Regions from separate parts of the Homo sapiens genome. Here regions 1 and 3 are each linked to region 2. Evidence: promoter capture Hi-C in 16 types of primary human blood cells and fetal thymus (Javierre and others, 2016). All regions are on one chromosome and are shown on one strand. Each heading gives the region's core, a stretch centred on a gene start or on the middle of the fragment in contact. The rest is flanking DNA. Distances are from core to core; before and after follow the strand shown.

Region 1 (3,445 bases), core at 674-3,173, 1.3 Mb before region 2:
AGGTCTTCAGCCCCACAAGCCATGCCACATGCATCTGCCTATTAAGACAGGCGGTGCTATTAATCAGAATGGACCAAATTAAAAATCTTGAGATTACCTTTGCAGATGCGTCTTGCTTTGTAAAATCACAGTATTCCTGAAAAGCCATGCATAAATCAGTTTCTTTAATCCCTTACATTTATATAGTGCCTTATGGTTGCAGCAGACTGCAGAGATTGTTAGTTGCTTTTTTCCTAACAATGCTAGAGGAAAGGAGGGGCCACTACTCTCATTCTCATAGAACAGAAGAGAAACCCACAGCTAAGAAATGTTCTGCGGCGGAGCACAGTGGCTCATGCCTGTAATCACAGCACTTTGGAAGGCTGAGGTGGGAGGATCACTTGAGGCCAGTTCAGGGTCTCACACTGTTGACTAGCCTGGTTAACAAACCAAAACCCCAACTGTACAAAAAATTTTTAAATTAGCCAGGCGTGGTGGCACGTGCCTGTGGTCTCAGCGGCTCAGGAGGCTAAGCAAGGAAAATCACTTGGGCCCAGGAGTTCCAGGCTGCCGTGAGCTGTGATCGCACCACTGCACTCCAGCCTGCGCAACAGAGCAAGGCTGTCTCAAAATCAAAACAAAACAAAATGAAAGAAAAAGAAAGAAAGAAGGAAAGAAAGAAAGTAAATTCCGTGATGGTAAGTGATGGATCTGTGTTTCAAATAATATAGAGGGATCATATTTTACATATTCTCAGAATTCATATTATAAAGATCCCTACAGTGACTGCACAGTTAAGAATGCTCTCATAGATGTAAACTTCCAATCTACACTGTGGGCAACGCTAGATTTTTACAAATCAGGTTTGCTGTGTAACATATGCGTGTACTGTGCATTACTAAACCTAGTTCTAAATACAGCACAGCTGAAATTTTGTGGGTAACGTGATCATTCGGCAAATGTTGCCAGCCCCTATCATATTCAGAACCCTGTGTTCTGAGATGCTCAAGTTCAAGCTGAGGAATTTGCTAAACAAATCTCTGGCAAGGAATCAGCAGTGATTTTCTGTATCCTTAAATCCTTCCAAACAGAAATGGCAAAACATACGACCCGAGTCCATAATTCCTAAAGTTTCAATCTTCTCGCACTGTTTGAGTTTTAACTCGCTTATTCCCCCAAAGGAGTATGCCATTTACTTAATTTAAAAATTAAACAGCATAAAAACTTCTGAACTCTGAGTGAGACAGCGATCAGAGTTAAAAATAACTGATTTCGCGCGTTTCCGTGCAAAATGGGAGACAGACGTGACGGAGAGAGACCGAGCAGTGCCACGGCCCGGTAGAGGGTGCGGGGGCTTGCACCCGCTGGTGTTTGTGAGAGAGCGCTGGTGTAGACGCGAACGCAGCGCAGGCGGCCCGGCGGCGCGGCCTCAGGTCGGGGCCTTTCCAGCGTTCCAGCTACACCGAGCGCGCGGGGGCGAAAACATGTGCATGGTGTTTGGGGACTGTGCGCATGGGAGTGTTTTCACTGTCAACCAGGGTTCTTTTTCTTATTTTGAACCCATTTTCATGATGCACCGGAATGCTGAAGTTCAAAATTGCCTACGGAGAATTTTAAGACTAAAACCACACTAAGTTTCTTGTGTTAACTATAAATGCGGGTCAGAGTGAAAGCCGAGTAGGGAGGAGTGAAAAGGGGGAAAAGGGAAGAGATAAGAGGAAGAAAAGATGAAAGAGCCGGCGGAAGAGGGAGGGAAGCGGGGGCGGGCAGGCGAGCAGAGGCAGGGAAAGAGCGGCGCGGGTTGCGGGAAAGCTCCGCGCGCAGTACCCAACCGAGGCCCGGGCGCGCGGTCCTCCCGCCGGCAGGGGGCGCCCACCCGCCCGCCTCCGGCCCCTCGCGGCCAGCCGCCCCGCCCGCGCCTGCGCTTCCTGCCCCTCCTCGTCCGGGATGCTGCTGCCGCTACTGCGGAGTAGCTGCTTCCCTTCCTCCTCTCCCGGCGGCGGCGGCGGCAGCGGCGGAGGAGGAGGAGGAGGGGACCCGGGCGCAGAGAGCCGGCCGGCGGCGCAGTTGCAGCGCGGAGCCCACGGGCCGCCGGGGCCGCTCCAGCGGGCGGAAGCCGAGCCCGGGGCCGACCCCCCGCGCGCGGCGGAGGCCGAGGGGGCGCCGGGGCCCGGGGCGCGCAGCCGGGGGGCGGGCGGCGGCGGGCGGCGGGCCGAGCGGGAGCCGCATGCGTGTATGGATCCGGGCGCCGCGCTGCAGAGGCGGGCCGGGGGCGGCGGCGGTCTGGGCGCGGGCTCCCCGGCGCTGTCGGGCGGCCAGGGCCGCCGGAGGAAGCAGCCCCCCAGGCCGGCCGACTTCAAGTTGCAGGTCATCATTATCGGCTCCCGCGGCGTGGGCAAGACCAGCCTGATGGAGCGCTTCACCGACGACACCTTCTGCGAGGCCTGCAAGTCCACCGTGGGTAAGGGCGCCACGGCGACCCTGGGCCGGGCCTCCTGGCGCCCGGGCAGGTGCCCTTCGCCCCGTGGGCTTCGAGTCTCATCGAGCCTGGGAGTCTTTCGGGGATGGGCCTCTCGGTGAAACTAGGGGCGGGGGTCTCCTTGGAGCGCCCTGCATCCCAATCCCAAAGCCTGGCAGAGGTTTTCGTGCCGCCTCCGGGCAGACCTGCCCTTGGCCCCCGGCCCTGCCTCAGAGGTCCTGGCAGCCCCCGGGGCCTGTGGGGGCGGCTCTCCACGGAAACTTCGGCCCTTAGCATACTCGCCCAAGAAAAAGCTGGGTTCGAGTGGAGCGCAGGCAGGCAGGGGAGTGAACGCCTAAGGCCGCTCTCGCCCGGCCCGCCAAGGCCAGCGCGCGCCGTCTGCTGCGGGTGTGATCCCTGCGCAACCAGGGCAGTTTTCTTATTTTGAACCCATTTTCAAGAAATGAAGTTTAAAGTCACCTATGGAGAATGTTAAAACTAAAACTACAGTAAGTTTCTCGTGCTAGCCGTACGTACGGGGCAGAGGAGCTTCAGCTGTATTTATCCATGACCTCAAACAACCCGGTGACTGGCGGGCATGGGGTTGATTCCTCCAGTACCGCTGTTTTCGGTGAGGGACAGGAGTGAAGTAAGTACAGGAACGCTCCAGGGTCAAGGAGGAAAACAGCCGTGGATCTGAAATGGAAACTGCAGGGGAAATTTTTTTAATTAAGTCATGCTTAGAGGACTTGACATTGAGATTTCTCAGTTGGATGTGGGTAGCAGTTGTTTCTATGGAAAACCCCTTAAAAGATGTCCAAACTAGGAGAACCCCGTTCTTTAAAATAAAGGGCAGTCACTTCCGTGATAGGAAGTGAGAGATTTCCCCAGGGGCGGTCCAAGAAACTGAGTAGTCAGGAGATTTGATAGAATTAAAAGCATAATTTCATGTAATTCTATTTATTAATAGTGTTATAACCAGTGGTAGTTCCAAGGCTGTCAGTACGA
Region 2 (3,768 bases), core at 378-2,877:
CAGGCTGCCCCTGCAGGCTGGGGTGGCCAGTTTTTATTGGCTTATTTGTCCCTGCCCATGCCCTGCTGATTGGTCCATTTTACAGAGTGCTGATTGGTCCATTTTACAAACCTCTAGCTACCTACAGAGTGCTGATAGGTGCGTTTTTACAGAGCACTGATTGGTGCATTTTACAAAACTCTAGCTAGCTACAGAGTGCTGATTGGTGCATTTTACAATCCTCTTGTAAGAAAAGTTCTCCAAGTCCCCACCCAACCCAGAAATCCAGCTGGCTTCACCTCTCACTCCCAGGAATTTCAGGGCTGAAAACACATTCCTCGTGGGTGGCACAATCTTCTGTGAATGCCAGGCTAGCAATTCCAGCAGGCTGTTCCTGGATGGACCCTAATACCTGGATCGCACATGAAAACTTGGATTTGGTGCCTACTTCTAGACTGCTGTTTCGTCTCGTTTATTTTCTAGACAAACTGTGCTGCTCCATGGCAGTAGCATCAATATGTCTTTTGTTTCGTGGCGCTACCTAGGGATTTAAATTCAAACCGTATCACAAAATACAATAAAGGTTTATTTACAGCACATTGGTTTCATTTGACGTTCCTGTACCGGACTACCCTGGCAATCGGCTAAAGTTTTGTCAGCAAGTTTGCTGCTGGGATTTTTCTTATTTGGTTCAGTTTACTACAGCCTATCGTAAGTGATGCAGATGGAGTTAGTTTCTAACATGTGAACGTGAGAACTGTTTTGGTTTGGGTCCATCATTAAAACTGAAGAAGATTATTTGGGTTCGATGGTGTAGATTTTTGACTTTTATTTCTAGTTTCTGTGTGCTTTGTCATATTTCCCCTTGCTTCCTAGACGAGGTGTGTTTCCTTATCTGATTTTGCATCACTGGAGAGAACTCAGGAAGCAGGAGAGGCTGAATTGGATACCACGGGGAATGCAGCCCTGCCAACAGAGGACTGGATAGAATTAGAGCAAACGGACACATCCCCCCACGCCTGTTCTCCACAGGGCAGATTTTATTAATATATTTCTAACATTGGGGCCTCGTTTCAGTCTTCAAGTTTTTTCTTTTTTAGCGCAAACTAGACGCGCTCTGAGAGCCAAAATTAGCGTCCGCGAACCCCACCCCATTGCCTCCAACAGACCTAGCTCTCCTTTCCACCCTCAAACAGCCGTTACTACAGTTCCCAGCAAGCACCGCGCAGGGCCGCAAAGGGCCAGGCCCTCGGCGAAGGCCCCGCCCCGCAGGGGGCATGCCGGGAGTTGTAGTGAGTGGGCGCTTCCCTACTACTACTTGTCCCTTCCACTGGGCATTCCCACTTGGAAGAGTGTGATGCGCTGCCAGAGCAGTTTCTCTAGTTCCGTACTCGGAGCTCAAGGTGACAGAGGACTGCGCTTCCAGCCCTGCGCTGCGCATCGCGTCGGTCCCGCGGACCTTTGCCCCGCCTCCTTCCACACCCGTTCCCTTGACAGCTGGGCTGCGCTCCGGGCCGCGGCAAGCCGCGAGCGCGCAGGCGCAGCAGCCCCGCGCCGCGCTAGGCCGGCCTGGAGGGCGGGACAAGCGCTAGAAGCTCCCGGCCGGGGGCGCGCACGTAGGCACGCAGAGGCCGTCACGTGGGTCGCCGAGGCTCGCAAGTGCGCGTGGCCGTGGCGGCTGGTGTGGGGTTGAGTCAGTTGTGGGACCCGGAGCTGCTGACCCAGCGGGTGGCCCACCGAACCGGTGACACAGCGGCAGGCGTTAGGGCTCGGGAGCCGCGAGCCTGGCCTCGTCCTAGAGCTCGGCCGAGCCGTCGCCGCCGTCGTCCCCCGCCCCCAGTCAGCAAACCGCCGCCGCGGGCGCGCCCCCGCTCTGCGCTGTCTCTCCGATGGCGTCCGCCTCAGGGGCCATGGCGAAGCACGAGCAGATCCTGGTCCTCGATCCGCCCACAGACCTCAAATTCAAAGGTAGGCAGAACGGGGACACCCCCGGGTGGGGTGGGGCGCGCGGACCGCTGGCTGTCGGCGGGGGGGCGCGGAGGGCACGTCCGCGGCCCTGGCCCGAGGGAGCGCCCCCTCCCCCACGCCCCGGCGCCTTCCCTTTCCCGGCTGCTTTCTTGCCGCCACCTCGGCCGGCCTGCCCCTTGCTCCGGCCCGCTTCATCCCCTCCCGCCCGCCCTCGCTGCGGTGCGCGCGCCGGCCGGGGCGAGGCGGAGGGGAGCCCGGCCCTGGCGCCGCCGCCGCCGCCATCTTGCGGTCCCGCGGGGGCGCCTCCTGGGCGTCCGGTCCCGCCCGCGCCGCGGTCCGCCTGGGCCCGCGTCCTTGGCCCCAGAGGCCGACGGCGTGCTTCGGCGGGGCGTGGGCGGCTGGGCACCCGAGGGCGTGCGCTCTGGGCTGCGGCGGGGAGTGGGCTCTGGAGGTGGCGCAAGCTGCGTCTGTCGCCCGCTCCCGGCTGTCAGCGGCGCGGGGAGGCTAGGGCACGGCGCGGGACCCCTTGGGAGTGAGAGCCGCCCCCCGACCCCTGCCCCGGCCCGGGGAGAGCTCGCTGCAGCCGGCCCTCGGGTTCCGCGGAGGGCGTCGCTTGTCACCTTTCCGCCAGGTTTAGAACTCGGCCGTCAGGTGTAGGACGCGCCGGGGAGGTGGAGAGTCCTTGGAGGTGCCTGGCGAGGGCTGCCCGGTGCTGTTGGCACGGACCCAGGTGCGTGCGGGCAGGAGCGATGCGTCAGCCGCAAACGGAGAGTTGTAGGTTCATAGTAGCGGGGCTTCCTGCCTTCTACGACATTTCAGTGTGCCACCCGCGTGCTTTTATTTAGCCCTTTAGTTGAGCTCCTCTGCTGAGAAACCTTCAGTGCGTGTGACTTTTTTGCTTTTACGTTTGCGGTTTCCGACAGATCCTGAGAAGGCTGATAAGGTGTCACCCAGCTCTGGAACTTTGTAGGTTTTTGTAGTACTGCCTGTGATAAGTTTTTTAGTCTGACTTGGTGATCCTGGAAGAATCCCAGGGGCTTTTGGTCGGTTTCCTTGTCAATATGTAGTGTACTTTAGGAAAGAGAGTTAAAATGTACAGATTTTTATTTTTTTTCTTTGTTTTTAAGGAATACTGAAAGAGTGTGAACATCTAATAGAAAGTAGGTTCCTTCCTATCTTTAGTTAAGTGTAAAGTGAGTCCCGTTTTGGAAGTCTATGTCTTGTATTTCAATTGTTGAATGAGAACAATTTTTGTGAGGTGTATAGCAATTCTAGTGCTAAAAGAAAAAATTAAATCCTTTATTGTTGTGTAAGGCTGAGTCCAAGAGAAAGCCAACTACATTGTTTTCCATAGGAAAAACTTCAGGTTTAGGAATTTAAAATATATTCTGGAATTATGAGATTAATATTGCATAACTACATTGCAAGCTTTTTAGTGCGTTTACAAATTTCTTTGAATAGAAGTGTAAGTGAGCTACTTGTTGGGTAAGGATTTGGTTTTAAGGTGCAGTGAATGTATTTTATTGCAAGTTTATGTAAGTTGTGTGATTTTTACGTAGTTGTAGCTGGGGGAAAACCTTTGAGGAATTATGAAGAGTCCTGACTCAGCCATTATCTTGAGATAATTTAATGTAAATCTGTATGGTGTGTTTTTTTTTAATATTTCGTTTTTATCTTTTGATTGGCTGTGTTTACAGTGAACATTTCCTCTACTGGATAACTATGTGTAAATTGCCATTAGGGATTTATAAGCCTTTACAACCAGTTTTAGGCCAGGAAATGTCCACAGAGTTTGAAGTTTTCTCCTTAGGGAAGTTGTTA
Region 3 (3,929 bases), core at 796-3,295, 1.2 Mb before region 2:
TCCCATTCAGAGGCATTCCCAGAAAAACGACTCACAAAGACCACAACAGCAGCAGAGCAGGCGAGGTCTCAGTGCCCCCAGAGCTCAGCCAGGGCGAGGCAGGACGACTTCGGGGCAGGGCTCTCCTGACGTAGGGATTACAACAAAAGGGTTCATCCTGCATTTTTTGAAGGAGATGGCTAAGTAGGGTAAATCTGTGGTTAAGATCACAGACTTTGGAGTCGATTTTTTCCTCCTATTTTTGCGAGTCGGCCCCCTCTTCTCTGTCCCTGCTCCCAAGGCCCCCTCACCGCGCATACTGCCACAGCCGCTCGCAGCTCCCGTGGCCCACCTCCCTCTCCTCCAGGTTGCTGCCCCCGGGGTCTTTTTGAGCACATCAGATCATCTTGCTCAGAATACCCCGTGGCTACCGCCTCTAGGATAATGCCCAACGGCCTTGGTAGGATATTTGGTGCCACACACCCTCCAGTCTCCCCTCTAATCCCTAACCTACCTGCCTCCCCGCCCAGGGGCCCTGCTCTCTGCAGGCTCTACTGTGTCCTGGGCCCTCAGCTGAGAGACCAACCCGTCCTTCCAGGAAAATGCGAGCCTCACCAGGCAGGGTTATGCTCCCGCCCTCCTCCTTGTAATTATTACCTGACCCTCTGCCTCCTGCAACGCCAGGGCTGGAGGACAGGCTGGCCCCTATTCCTATGGGCACTGGCCAACATCCAACGCCTGGGACATAAACTGCACCCAATGGTATGTGAACTGTACTTTACAGTTTGCACGGTGTGTTCTGGTATTTGCTAAATCTTCACACATGCTCAGGTGGCAGTACGTTTTAATGATACAGGCGAGGGAACTGGGGCTCAGAAAGGTCTAGTGCCTTGCGCATGGGAGACTCAAGTGGTAGAACCGGTGGCCGGGCTCCGGGCTCTGAGCGGAAAGCCTGCAGGACTCGGAATCCTGAAGACCTGGGTTTAAACCCGCTCAGCTAGGGACTGGGTGAGGCATCGCAGGCAAGTGACTTCACCTCCCAGCGCCGGTGCCCTAGTCTTCACCGAAGACAGCAATTCCAATCTGGGACTGTGGTGAGGCTTAAATAAAACACTGCTCAGTAAGTGGCCAGCAGGCCTGGCTCGCAGCCGGAACTATAAATGTGAGTTCCCTTTCTGACCCCCAGGTTTGGCGAGGGCTCCTCCTGTTTGGGCAGCAGCTCCTCCTGAGCTCCCGAGGCCACGGGGGTGCCAACTGTGGAGCGCCCGCCGTGCCGTTTAGACGCGAGAGCTGCGTCGGGTACCAGCGATCCTTAAAGGAGCTCGGGGACCAGGGGCACAGCTTGGAGAGGACAGCGAGGGAGGTGACTGGCCTCGGGGAGGCGGGCGGTGGATGGAGAGGCATGAGAGGGGTGTTGTCAGCCGCGGCACACGCCTTCCCCAAGTGGCCGGCGCCGCCCCTTGCCACCACTTCACCTCCGCCTCTTCCCTTCCTCCCTAGCTCCTGGCAGCGTCTCTAGGGCCTCAAAAAGCAAGGAGGGTCCCCGGGCAGCGAGGCCCCATGGATCCAGCCTGCGCCTGCTCCCAAGGGCGCGCAGGTCCCGCCCCTGCCGGGCGCCCGCCCCCCGGGGAGCGCAAGCCCCCGCCCCTTCCCTCGCCCCTCCCCTGCACGGCGCCGGCTGGCTGGAGGCGGGGCATGCGCACGGGCCTGGGCGAGGGCGCTGGGCGGCGGGGAGGTGGGGCGCGCGCGTGCGGCTTCTCTCAGCCGGGAGCGGCGGGGGCGGGCACGGGCAGCAGCGGGCCGGCGGTGGGCGGGGAGCGGGACGCGGGAGCCGGGCGCGCGCCGCCAGCGCCGCCGCGGCACCGGTGACCGCGAGCCCGGAGCGCGAGGTCCGGGGATGCGAGCGGCCGGGAGCCGCCGCGCTGCTGAGCCGGGAGAACTCGATCCGCGGTGACCTCAGCGAGGGGCGAGCGCGGCGGCGGCGAGCCCCGCGGGAATCCTCGGGGCCGGGGTGCGGGGGGCGGGGACGGCGGGAGCGCGGGGCGCAGCCCGGGCGGGGCTGGGACAGTGATGAGAGAGCGCGCGGGGAGGCTGCACGCCGCCGCCGCCGCCGCCGCCGCCGTCGTCGTCCGGAGCATCTGCTGCCTGAGCTGCTGCCGGCGGACCCGGCCATGGAGACACTGAACGGCCCCGCGGGCGGAGGTGCCCCGGACGCGAAGCTGCAGCCGCCCGGCCAGCACCACCGCCACCACCACCTCCACCCGGTGGCCGAAAGGCGGCGGCTGCACCGTGCGCCCTCGCCCGCCAGACCCTTCCTCAAGGACCTGCACGCCCGGCCCGCCGCGCCCGGCCCGGCCGTCCCCTCCTCGGGCCGAGCCCCGGCTCCCGCCGCCCCGCGCTCGCCCAACCTCGCGGGCAAAGCGCCGCCCTCGCCGGGGTCCCTGGCCGCGCCCGGCCGCCTCTCTCGGCGCAGTGGCGGCGTCCCGGGCGCGAAGGACAAGCCCCCGCCGGGCGCCGGGGCCAGAGCGGCGGGCGGTGCCAAGGCTGCCCTGGGAAGCAGGAGGGCGGCGCGCGTGGCGCCCGCGGAGCCGCTGTCCCGGGCTGGGAAGCCTCCCGGAGCCGAGCCGCCGTCTGCCGCTGCCAAGGGCCGCAAAGCCAAGCGCGGCTCCCGGGCGCCACCCGCCCGCACCGTCGGCCCCCCGACCCCGGCCGCCCGGATCCCTGCCGTGACCCTCGCGGTGACCTCGGTGGCCGGGTCCCCGGCCCGCTGCTCGCGCATCAGCCACACGGACAGCAGCTCCGACCTCTCTGACTGCCCCTCCGAACCCCTGTCCGACGAGCAGCGCCTGCTCCCTGCCGCCAGCAGCGACGCCGAATCCGGCACGGGCTCCAGCGACCGTGAACCCCCACGAGGAGCGCCGACGCCGAGCCCCGCAGCCCGAGGAGCGCCGCCGGGCAGCCCCGAGCCCCCAGCGCTCCTCGCCGCGCCCCTCGCCGCGGGCGCCTGTCCCGGGGGCCGGAGCATCCCGAGCGGGGTTTCGGGGGGTTTCGCGGGGCCCGGCGTGGCGGAGGATGTCCGGGGGCGCTCGCCACCGGAGCGACCAGTCCCCGGGACCCCCAAGGAGCCCAGCCTGGGCGAGCAGTCTCGGCTCGTGCCAGCGGCGGAGGAAGAAGAGCTGCTGCGGGAGATGGAGGAGCTGCGCTCGGAGAACGACTATCTCAAGGTGAGCCGCGCCTCGGCCGCAGGTGTCCCGGGGCGCCCCCGGAGGGCCTGGCTGCGGCGGGGACCCGCCAACCCCTCCTTCCCGGGCCTGTCCAGCGCCTTCTCCCTCCTGCTCTCCACGGTCCTACCCCCGCATTGTCAGGCATTGGCAACTTAAGCCCAAACTTCTGGAAGGAGAAGCAAGACCTGTGGGACCCCGCCAGTTCGCAACCCACTTCTCTTTTCTCGCGTCTAGAACTCTTGCGTCTCTTCGCTGATACTTTTACTTTTGTTGACCTGTTGGGGCAGAGGAGGCTGTAATCGTTTTGGGGACATCAGCGGACGCCCCCATCCCCGCTCAGAACGTGCCAGCCTCACCTGTAGGAACAGGTGATCCTTCGCCAGGGAGCTCTAGCCGGGCCACGTGCGGGCGTGGCGGTTCAGGATAATGCCACTGGAGGGCCCCCGGCTACGGACCCGCTTGCCCCTTCTCCTGCAATTACGGAAAGAGCTGGGGGCTCTCAGGGTCTCCTGGGCTCCGACATCCCGGGTAGAGGGGGCCGCGCCGTTTTCGGTGAGCAAGCTGAAGCTCAGTAGAGGTCCTTGGAGTGTGGCCCGGGTTGAGGAGCAACGGTGTTGCGCGGGCCAGTCCTTTGTAAGCATCCAGGAGCCGGCTTTCTGTGTCAGGAGAGGCCACGCCAGCACTTTCTAAGGAATCGCGGCGCCTGCTGCACTCTCTGAGTATTTT

Evidence for each region. Contacts are between HindIII fragments. The CHiCAGO score rates a contact against its expected background, and 5 or more counts as called.
Region 1: the fragment with the promoter of RAB12 here is called in contact with the fragment with the promoter of VAPA in region 2 in 1 of 17 cell types (total CD4 T cells); the score reaches 5.2 in total CD4 T cells.
Region 3: a contact is called between the fragment with the promoter of MTCL1 here and the fragment with the promoter of VAPA in region 2, in 4 of 17 cell types (total CD8 T cells, non-activated CD4 T cells, activated CD4 T cells and 1 more). The highest score is 8.2, in total CD8 T cells.

The regions. Positions count from the first base shown.
Region 1 is chr18:8,607,514-8,610,958 of GRCh38, forward strand. RAB12 (RAB12, member RAS oncogene family) reads left to right here and starts at 1,924. Exons shown (of 6, transcript NM_001025300.3): 1 at 1,924-2,440. The coding sequence starts at 1,927. RefSeq lists silencers at 1,752-1,981, 2,412-2,711 and an enhancer at 3,162-3,211. The HindIII fragment of the contact is 24,115 bases long and covers 1-3,445 here.
Region 2 is chr18:9,912,389-9,916,156 of GRCh38, forward strand. VAPA (VAMP associated protein A) reads left to right here and starts at 1,628. Exons shown (of 6, transcript NM_194434.3): 1 at 1,628-1,947. The coding sequence starts at 1,869. LOC124904245 (a long non-coding RNA gene) reads right to left here and starts at 1,560. Exons shown (of 2, transcript XR_007066284.1): 1 at 1,324-1,560; 2 at 545-945. RefSeq lists silencers at 1,563-1,612, 1,823-2,612 and an enhancer at 2,130-2,747. The HindIII fragment of the contact is 3,402 bases long and covers 1-3,373 here.
Region 3 is chr18:8,703,511-8,707,439 of GRCh38, forward strand. MTCL1 (microtubule crosslinking factor 1) reads left to right here and starts at 2,046. Exons shown (of 15, transcript NM_001395333.1): 1 at 2,046-3,203. The coding sequence starts at 2,151. GACAT2 (gastric cancer associated transcript 2) reads right to left here. Exons shown (of 2, transcript NR_120598.1): 1 at 3,560-3,929. RefSeq lists silencers at 1,391-1,830, 2,211-2,270. The HindIII fragment of the contact is 5,801 bases long and covers 1-3,929 here.